2 separate regions of the Homo sapiens genome follow, and region 2 is linked to region 1. Evidence: promoter capture Hi-C in human tissues and cell types (Jung and others, 2019). All regions are on one chromosome and are shown on one strand. The core of a region is centred on a gene start or on the middle of the fragment in contact, and the rest is flanking DNA. Distances in the headings are between cores, read along the strand shown.

Region 1 (4,554 bases), core at 528-3,027:
GCAGGGGAGAAAAAGAAAAGAAAAAGACCAAAACGAATTAGGCAAGAGTTTTATAATAATTGCGGATGTTCCTCCCCACAGGGCTTCCCTCCCTAGCTGAGTTTACTACTGTGAAATTTCTTTTCAGTTTTCAGTAAAAGTATCTGGCACATTAAAACAGTCCAAAGACCAAGTAAGAGAAAGATGCCAAATGACACATATTTCTAAAGAAAGCTATTCAATTTACCACTCATTATCAATGGCGGCATTCCACACGATTACTGACATTATACTTATTTCAGGCATTACACCAAAGGATATTTTCTCCCCCCGCCCCCGCCACCTCTCCACCCCCACTTTTCACCCCTTATGTCCAAACGCACAGGATCAACTAAAACAGCGACAACACTTGATAGGAGGCAAAGAGAAATGAGGGACCTAGTTTGAAATTTTTAGGAAATAAAAAAATCGTTCCAGTATCTTCCCTCTCCCTCAAGAATTCTTCCACCATCATTCAGTCCCAAGGAGAGGAAGGGTAGGTTCTCTTTTGAAGCCTCCTCCAGCGAAGAGCCAAGAGAGAAAGGGGCGAAAGAGAGGGAGTTTTAAGGAAGGAGCTAGCCTGTGTCAACATCTGTCCCAAGTGCCCTAAGATTCATTCATTCTTCCTTTCAGGACATATGTAGGGAGCACTTGCGCTATGCCAGGTATCAGGTTCCACGTAAATAACCCTTCCGTGGACCTCCAGGGTGTATTCCAGCAACAGAAATCCACCACCCCGGCTTCGAACCACGGAAAATCCAGATTCAAGTATCTACCCAAGTTGGCCCCGACCAGAGGCCAGCCCGCACCGCCTTTGACACGACACCTGGGACAGAGGTGGGGGGATCCAAAGACACCTTACGCTTGGCAGAAATCTCTCCCTGGGGTCAGAGGGTTCGTGACCTCGTTCACACCGAGTATGCGTGTCCTCTTTCTCAACCAGCCGATCCATCCCCCGGAAAAGTTAAGTTGGCGGCGAGTGGGAAAAGAGGGGAACCGGGGGCATCCGGCAGGCACCCCCGCCCGGGCTTCTCAGCTCCAACTTCCATGGCTACCGAGAAATATTTATTTCGAGTAGATGGGCTCCAGGGGCTACTGAAGCCCAACACGCGGCCACCATCAGAAAGCCAAGTCATCCAAGAGATAAAGATAGATCCATTACATACCTAGACGCTGGCCTTACAGTGACAGCCCCGGAGACGCGGGTTTCGGCTGAGAAAGCCACCGCGCAATTCTCCGGCGCGCGGCCGGGGACTCTCCGTCCACCCTCCAGGGATGCTGGCTCAAGAGAGAGACAATCGAACCGGCGAACAGCAACACGGAGAGGATCGATACTCACCCCGAGGCGTCTGCTCCGGATCCTCACGTACCCTTGCTTCACTATGTCATTAAAATTGGAAGCCATCCCAGACAGCCGGTGACCCCCCCTTTACCCAAGAGCGCGCACCCGAAGTGGCTCTGGGGAGGGTGGAGGGCAGGGTCAAGACAAGCAGTCGGTGGGAGAAAGTTGGAGAGGTGAAGCTGCTTCGGCGGCGCTGGGCGAGGCTTTAGAAGGCGCACATCACTTTCTCTGTCCCCCCAACCCTGACAGTGGGCGGCCGGCTTGCAGCCACTTTCGGGGAGCGCAGAGCGCGGCGCGGGGAGGCGAGGCTGGAGCGCCGGCGTCAGCTGACTCCGCGGCCGGCCTGCCAGGAGGAGGAGCGGCGGCGGCTGAGGGATCCAGCCCTGCCTCCTCCCGGCCGAGAAGGAGGAGAAGAAGGAGGAGGAGGAGGAGGAAGGAGGAGGAGGAAAGAGGAGGAAGGGGTGGGGGGCTAAGAGGAGGAGCCGCGCGAGTCCCAGCACTGGGCTGCGGCCACCCGTGAGCAGCCGCCCTGGAACGCTCCCCGCGCCTCCCACCCACCTTTCCCTCCCCGCTTCCCCTTCCGATCCCTCCCCTCCTGGCGGACCCGGAGCGTGCCCCCGCCACCCCCGCACCTCGCCCACAGCCTACTGAGATAGCGCTCGCTCTCCTCGCTCCAATGACTTATTTTAGGAGGAGAGGAAATTTCACTTTTTTCCAGCCGCCGCCCACCCCGCCTCCCCCTTCAGCCCCTGCCCTTTCCCCGAGAAGGGCCGATTTTGCGTGTGTGTCTGGGGAGATGGTGTTGCCGCGGCTCGCCTTGACCTTGGCATCTGAGGAGAGGGATATTGTCACCGCTTAAGCCAAATGCTTCCTTGGGTTTCCTTGTGTCAGGGACCTAGCCCTCGCTGGTATCATTTGCCACAGTTTCCCTGTTTCAGCCTCTTTCCCGCCGGAATGTGTTTCCCAGGGGGCTGAGACTTGGCCTCATCACTGTCTGTCCCCAAAGCCTGACCCCAGAGCAAGTGCTCAGTAAATCCTTGTGGTTATCAAGATGGCCACCTAGGTGCCAGGCACTCTCCAAGCCTTTTGCATGGATTGACTCATTCAAACTCCCCTGCACTTTTTGAGGTAGGTGCCCTGTTAATGTATACACCAGGCCCATATTTAATTAAGCCTCCTTAGCCTGGCAATAGAGCTCTCATTGCCATTATGAGATACTGCCTATACAATAAGATGAAGAAGGGGACTGAATTTCACACTCACCTGCCCCTGACTGCATTACCTCCCTAAAGCATACTTGATTGATAATTGCTAACACACATTGAGCACCAGTGTGCTGGGCATTGTGCTAATCTTGTTAAGGGAATAATGAATTAGGCACCAGCATCCACATTTTACAGACTTGCTAAGGTCTCACAGCTGGCCACTATCAGAGCTAGGATTGAAGGGAGGTGTGTGTAGTGCCCAGCTCTGCTCCTAAACATTCTCCTATTCCTCTTCTGAAGAGAGGATCTCACAGAAAGAGAGGTTACTAGTTGATTTCCAAGGAAGATCTTTCTAATCATTTGCACTATTCACAAAGGCAAAGATAATCATCAGAAATTAGACAAAAATTCTTACTCACTGGGAAGCGACAAAGCTAAAGCTAGAGATCACTGCTCAGAGCCATTGAGAAGAGGATTCAGTTAGTAGTGGATTGTTTGACCTGATGACATCCACAGGTCTTTCAACTCTAAGACGATATGAATCTTCCCATTCTCACTGGGAACATTAGCTTTTAGTCACCTTGGCTTGATGAGTTTCAGTTAAAGAACAGAAACCTCCAAGAATGTGTCATAGGAGAACCGAGACTAAATGGGGACAATCAAAAAGGAGATATTCTGGCAGGGAGAACTATTTTTGCTACATAGTAAACCATCTGTCTTCATGTTGCCATTCTATGGAAAATGATGTTTTAATTTTAAATCTCTCACCAAAAGAGATGAAATGGTAAAATCATTTGGAGAGCTCCTTTTGAAGGATTGGAACTTAAAAAAAAAAATGCTGCCCATGGTTGCTGTAAAATAGAGGTGTTCATGGAAGGCATTTATCTAACACATCATTTATAGACCAAGTCCACAGTATTATAGAAACAAAAAATGAAGAAATTAAGGCATAAGGAGCTTGAAATGAAGGGCCCACAATAACGGAAATAATTACTGACAAAAACTGAAGGCGAGAAATCCATCCCTTGATAGTTAATGCTGACTATAATCAACATCCATAGATAATTTAACTGGAGCTGAGGAAACTAGAATCAAACCAGAAAATATCAAACTAGACGTGAAGGAACAAATGATTTCTTTTTTAAATTGCAAGACTGAATCCAATATATGGTTTTGTTTGGTGAAATCCAATTGACATACATGCAAAACGTACAGACTGTGATATACTATTCATAGGACATTTACACTTGTCCAAATTGTGCAATACAAGCCCTGGCAGCAAGAGCAAAGAGACTGGGCACAGTGGCTTACGCCTGTAATCCCTGTAATTTTTTGGGAGGCCGAGGTGGGTGGATCACCTGAGGTTGGGAGTTCGAGACCAGCCTGACCAACATGGAGAAACCCCGTTTCTACCAAAAATACAAAATTAGCTATGTGTGGTGGTGCGTGCCTGTAATCCCAGCTACCTGGAAGGCTGAAGCAGGAGAATCACTTGAACCTGGGAGGTGGAGGTGAGCCAAGATTGCACCATTGCACTTCAGCCTGGGCAACAAGATCGAAACTCTGTCTCAAAAAAAAAAAAAAAAAAAAAAAACATTAAAAAAAGAAAAAGAAATGGAAAAGAACCATTCACAGAGGTAGGCAATGTAAGGGGTGCTTATAGAGTTCTACAGTGCACAACTTGCCTAACCATATGCTGCCGAACAAATATACTATCACACATGATTTAGTTTTACTGGAAATGTCTGACAAGAAAAAATACTATTTCGTTCCGTGTTTTGAACTCAATTTTTGAATATTTAGAGCTTCTTATTTGTAGTATGCATTTCTGTTTGTTTCCTCAGCATCCAGAGTTTGTTCTTCCCATAGTAGTCACCATTTTCACTGAGTGTACTCACCCCTGTTTCCAGCTCACGTGTGCAGCCCTGTCCATGGCCTTTCTTTGGACAACTAGTGGTTGGTGATTGGTTCAGATATGGGCACATGACC
Region 2 (4,554 bases), core at 823-3,322, 55 kb before region 1:
CTCCTGGTATCTTGCCCAAACTTGATCCTGGCTAGCAAAGTCACTGCCAGCAGGCAGACATAGAAAACAAGAGCAAAAGTGACACGGTGAAGATCACTCAGTATGAAAAGAAACAAAACAGAGGCTGAGAACAGCAGCAGTCCCGGCACATAAAGTCTTGAGTCTGCAGGCAACCTACAAGACTTGTGCCAAGCTGTGAAGATATACCCACCTCCAGCCTCCCACACACCAGGCTCCTTTCTTTCCTGAAACTATTGCCACCTTCCCCACCTTCTTTCTTGCACCTGGGCGCAATGCATCTATGTGGAACAATCTTCCCATTCCACACCCTTCCACTTGGCTACTTATCTTTTATGTATCATGTTACTTGTTCTAGGAAACCTCTCCTAATGCCTTCTTCTCTATAAACACAGAATAGGGAGAAGCATATACAATTAAAGTCAAGAACACAACCTCAGGAGCCCACCTGCCCACGAGCAGGTTAATTCCAAAATGTACATGCAGTGTGGCCTTGGGCAGGTTGTTTAACCTCTCTGTCCTTCATGAGATAATTGTAATCCTATCTACCACACTGGGTTGTCGAGAGGGTCAAATGAGTTACTACATTTAAATCACCTTAGAACAAGGCCTGGAATATAAGTGTTTAATAAATGAGAGATGCTCTTACTAGACTCCAACTTCCAGAGGTGGAGGGTATTTGTCTATAGCCTTCATTACTGTATCCCCAGCTCTAGCACAGGGATCACCATACTGTAGGTATTCAACAAATGCTTGCTGCATAAATCAATTACATGAGAGGCCCCTCTCATCCACACTCAGAACACATGACCTTTCTCCATCATAAACAAACTACACTTAAAGTAATTGTTTGTATAATTATCTCTCTTTAGACTGTAAATTCTATGAGGGGCAGAGCCTGCTTTATGCACTGCTCAAATTATAGTAATTGGGTCATGGTGAGCACAAAACAAAACAGTTTCCAAGTAAAATGAAGAAATAAATGAATCCCCAACTTAAAGAATACATAACATCAGTAGAGCCAGTGGCATTCACATAAATCTTTCTTTGCGCTTTCTTGGAAACTTTGTAAAGTTTTACTGGATTGCTTTTTCAAAGGATATGAAGAAAGTGAGAGCCTTTCCCCTAGAAACTAATTGGAACCTGACTTCCCCAAGACTTTGTCTCCAATAGTAATACGTGGAGGCAAGAGACTCAACTTCTATCTTCCTTGTATCCAAAGACAAAAAGAAGCTTGTAGGAGGTTGCTGAATATTGCAAAGCCCTGGAATGGCATTCTTACTCTGATTTGTTATAAAATGAGAGAAGCTGGTGATTTATTTCCTCTATAATATCAATTTATCCTTAGGTGTTCTATCTATAGTGAATTTTACCCAAACTCACTCAAAATTGAAAGACTTCCCTGGCTATAAACTAGGTTCTTGACGCTTTAGTCTTTTGGAGCTCTGGGGTTCTATGACTAAAATTGAAATTGACTCAAGATTCACCTGAGTGAGAATTTTAAGCTCCAGTGAAAGGCTTTTCCAATACCACATAATATATGAAAGTGGAGTGACACTAACAAACGTTCAGAATATAGTTTCACAGACATTCATGATGGACCACAAAGGCTCTAAGCAAGCAACATAATCCAAGCTTGGTAAGTTGTGAATAACATTCTCCATAAGACAAAAACAAACCAATTACTGAGGAAAGTCACAACTATTCTTTATAATTGGTCCAGACAGAAATATTGCCTCAAGCTCTTCATAACACATAGGAGTGTGGTTCAGACAGTCTCCATGGAAGGGCAACTTGACAAGAGTGTTCCTCATAATATACACATCTTCTGATCCTGCAATTCCGCTCACAGGAACTTAGCTTACCCCTTTATTCTTATATTCTTATGTGGGTCATATATATTCTTACATTTGGGAAATAATGGGTGTACAGGGTATTGCAGGGGTGAAAGGAAGCTTCCCTTCACCCTCTAAAGGCTGTCTTAAAAAATCAACTCAAAAAAGACAGATTAATAGGGGAAAAGGCATACAAATTTATTAACGTGCACATGGGAGAGAACCACAGAGTGAATACCCCAACTACCCGATGGGGTGCAGAAGCTTATAAACCATCTTGAGGTTACAGAAAGAATGAGGGCTCAGGATGGCCCAAATTAGGCTAGGCTGATAAACCAGGTTAGACTGGCAAGACAGGTCATGGGAAGTAGAGAAGAGGAGGCTTGGTTAGCAAAGGTGGTCTTGTGTAAATGAAATCAAACAGGTAGCAGCCCTCAGAGAGAAGAGATAGTAAATGTTTCTTCTTTAAAGGTGTCAGACTCTCAGTTAATCTTCCGTAGATCAAGACAAGGGTAGGGTTGGCTGCCTCAATGTAGACTCTCTACAGATGCAAATCTCGCCCATAGAAAACAGCTTTGCAGGTTGCTTCTGTCTGCTGGCCCCCTGAACAGCCATCTCAAAATATGTCAAATAAATAATGAGTAATAGGGCAGACTCTCAAGCCAGAATAGGCTTACAGAGACTTTAGCATAGCCACATAGTAAAAAAGGATTTATAGACACACACCAAATAAAGGACAAAGAAACAAAAGTGAGATACAGAAATAGCCAAATTGGTCACACCATGGCACTTGTGCATGATTTAAACAGTTGGTCATCTTTGATTAGCCAAAATTCAGTAATTGACACAAGAGTAAACTACAGTTGACAAAAAACCTTTAGGCTAAACTTAAAATATATAAAAAGAGACAGTTGTAGGCTAAACTTAATTTAACAAACCCAAATGTATAAATGGATGAATAGATAAACAAAATGTGGTCTATCCACACAATGGAATATCATTTAGCCTTAAAAAGGAATGCAGTACTAATGCATGCTACAACATAGATGAAACTTCAAAAACAATGTACTAAGTGAAAGAAGCCAGACACAAAAGACCATGTATTGTAGGATTTCACTTATACAACATTTCCAAAAGAAGCCAATGCATGAAAACAGAAAGTGGATTTGTGGTTTTCAGAAATTGATGGAAGGGAAAATGAGAAGTGACTACTGTTAATGGGTACGGGAATTCTCTATGGAATGATGAAAACGTTCTAAATTTACATTGTGATGATGGTTACACAACAGTGTAAATATGCTAAAAATACTGAATTATACACTTTAAAAGGATGAATCTTATGGTATATGAATTATATCCCAATAATGCTGTTTTTTTTTTTAAAGTCACCCTTATAAACTTGTTGTTGGGGGTAAAATTCAAAATAATTACAGAATGCCTGGCACATGCTATGCCAACAATAAAATCATCCTCATCTTGCATTTATTGAGCATTTATTAAGGGACAGCCTGTCACCTAATCAGCATTATCTTCTTTAACTCTTATAACAATTCCATGATTTATAAAGGAACTATTATTAGTAGTAGTATTTCAAGGTGAGAAGTTGAGGTTTAGAATATTAAAACTGCAATTGAAGAGCAATTATTGTTCAATGGAATATACTACTTCAAGAAAGCATTCCATATATTTTAGTCTTATTATTATAATTATGTCTATCTTCCTTAACACCCTAATGCCTTTGCATTTAATCATTAGAAGGCTAAGTGACAGCCAATAATTAGCATTTGTCATTAGAACTGTATCTCTGCAAATAGTTTTAGTAGAGATAAAAAGACCATGAAATCCAAATTGTGTATGCACCTGGTTGTCTCTCCCTGCTCAGGACCCAGAGAACAGTCATGCAGGAGGTGATCCATTCAAAGATGCAAAGATGCTTTAACATCAAAGAGTAGGTCCAAGCAAGATAGAGAATCATCTTTTCTATCATGTCGCTAATCTTGGACTGATGACTTACCACAACTCCACTTAGGTTTTCATTTCTTCTTTAAAATATGCATCCCTCTGCTTTTTTTTTAACTCATTATTTTAAAATACAACAGTACAAAAGTATATAAAGAAGAAAATGGAAGGGTTCCCGCTCTTCATCTCCACTTCTAGTGACCAAAGGAAGCCACTTGCAGCAGTTCCAAAAAGCTGCCTCCCAGCAGTCATTCTCTTTTTATTTGGCAGTACAAAACCCTCGGCAATGTGCCAGCTGAGGGACTGTATTTTCTATTCTTCCAGGTAAAGCCAAGTGACCAAATATTGGCCAAGGAGATATAAGAAGTTTTGTGTGAGCTTTCCAAGAAGGCTTTTTTAAAATGAGAAGGGACAAAATTAGTTTACTCTTCTTCCATCCCTCCTTTTTCTGGTCATGAAGATACATGATGCGTGGAGCTTCAACAGCCATCTTGGACCATGAGGTAACCTCTAGGTGGGAAGCCGTATACAAGAATGGTGGAGCAGACACATGAAAGATACCAGGTTTCCTGTTGACCATGGAACTACGATACTAACTTTAACTTCTTTCCCATGAAAGAAAACTAAACGACCTTAATAAGCTACTATTATTCTGAGTTTGAGGGTATCTGCAGCCAAAGCTAATTCCCATAGAGATATAATTCTATCTTCCTATTTATCTATACATGTATGAGTTTTTGTT

The links. Contacts are between HindIII fragments. The study calls those that stand out against the background at their distance.
Region 2: a fragment that was not itself captured here is called in contact with the fragment with the promoter of DOK5 in region 1 in 2 of the 25 tissues and cell types used here (aorta and dorsolateral prefrontal cortex).

What each region holds. Positions count from the first base shown.
Region 1 is chr20:54,472,816-54,477,369 of GRCh38, reverse strand. DOK5 (docking protein 5) reads right to left here and starts at 1,777. Exons shown (of 8, transcript NM_018431.5): 1 at 1,358-1,777. The coding sequence starts at 1,423. The HindIII fragment of the contact is 11,986 bases long and covers 1-4,554 here.
Region 2 is chr20:54,528,223-54,532,776 of GRCh38, reverse strand. The region is part of intron 1 of DOK5 (docking protein 5); the gene reads right to left. Among named protein-coding and RNA genes, the nearest start is that of DOK5, 55 kb to the right of the region's middle. The HindIII fragment of the contact is 3,382 bases long and covers 382-3,763 here.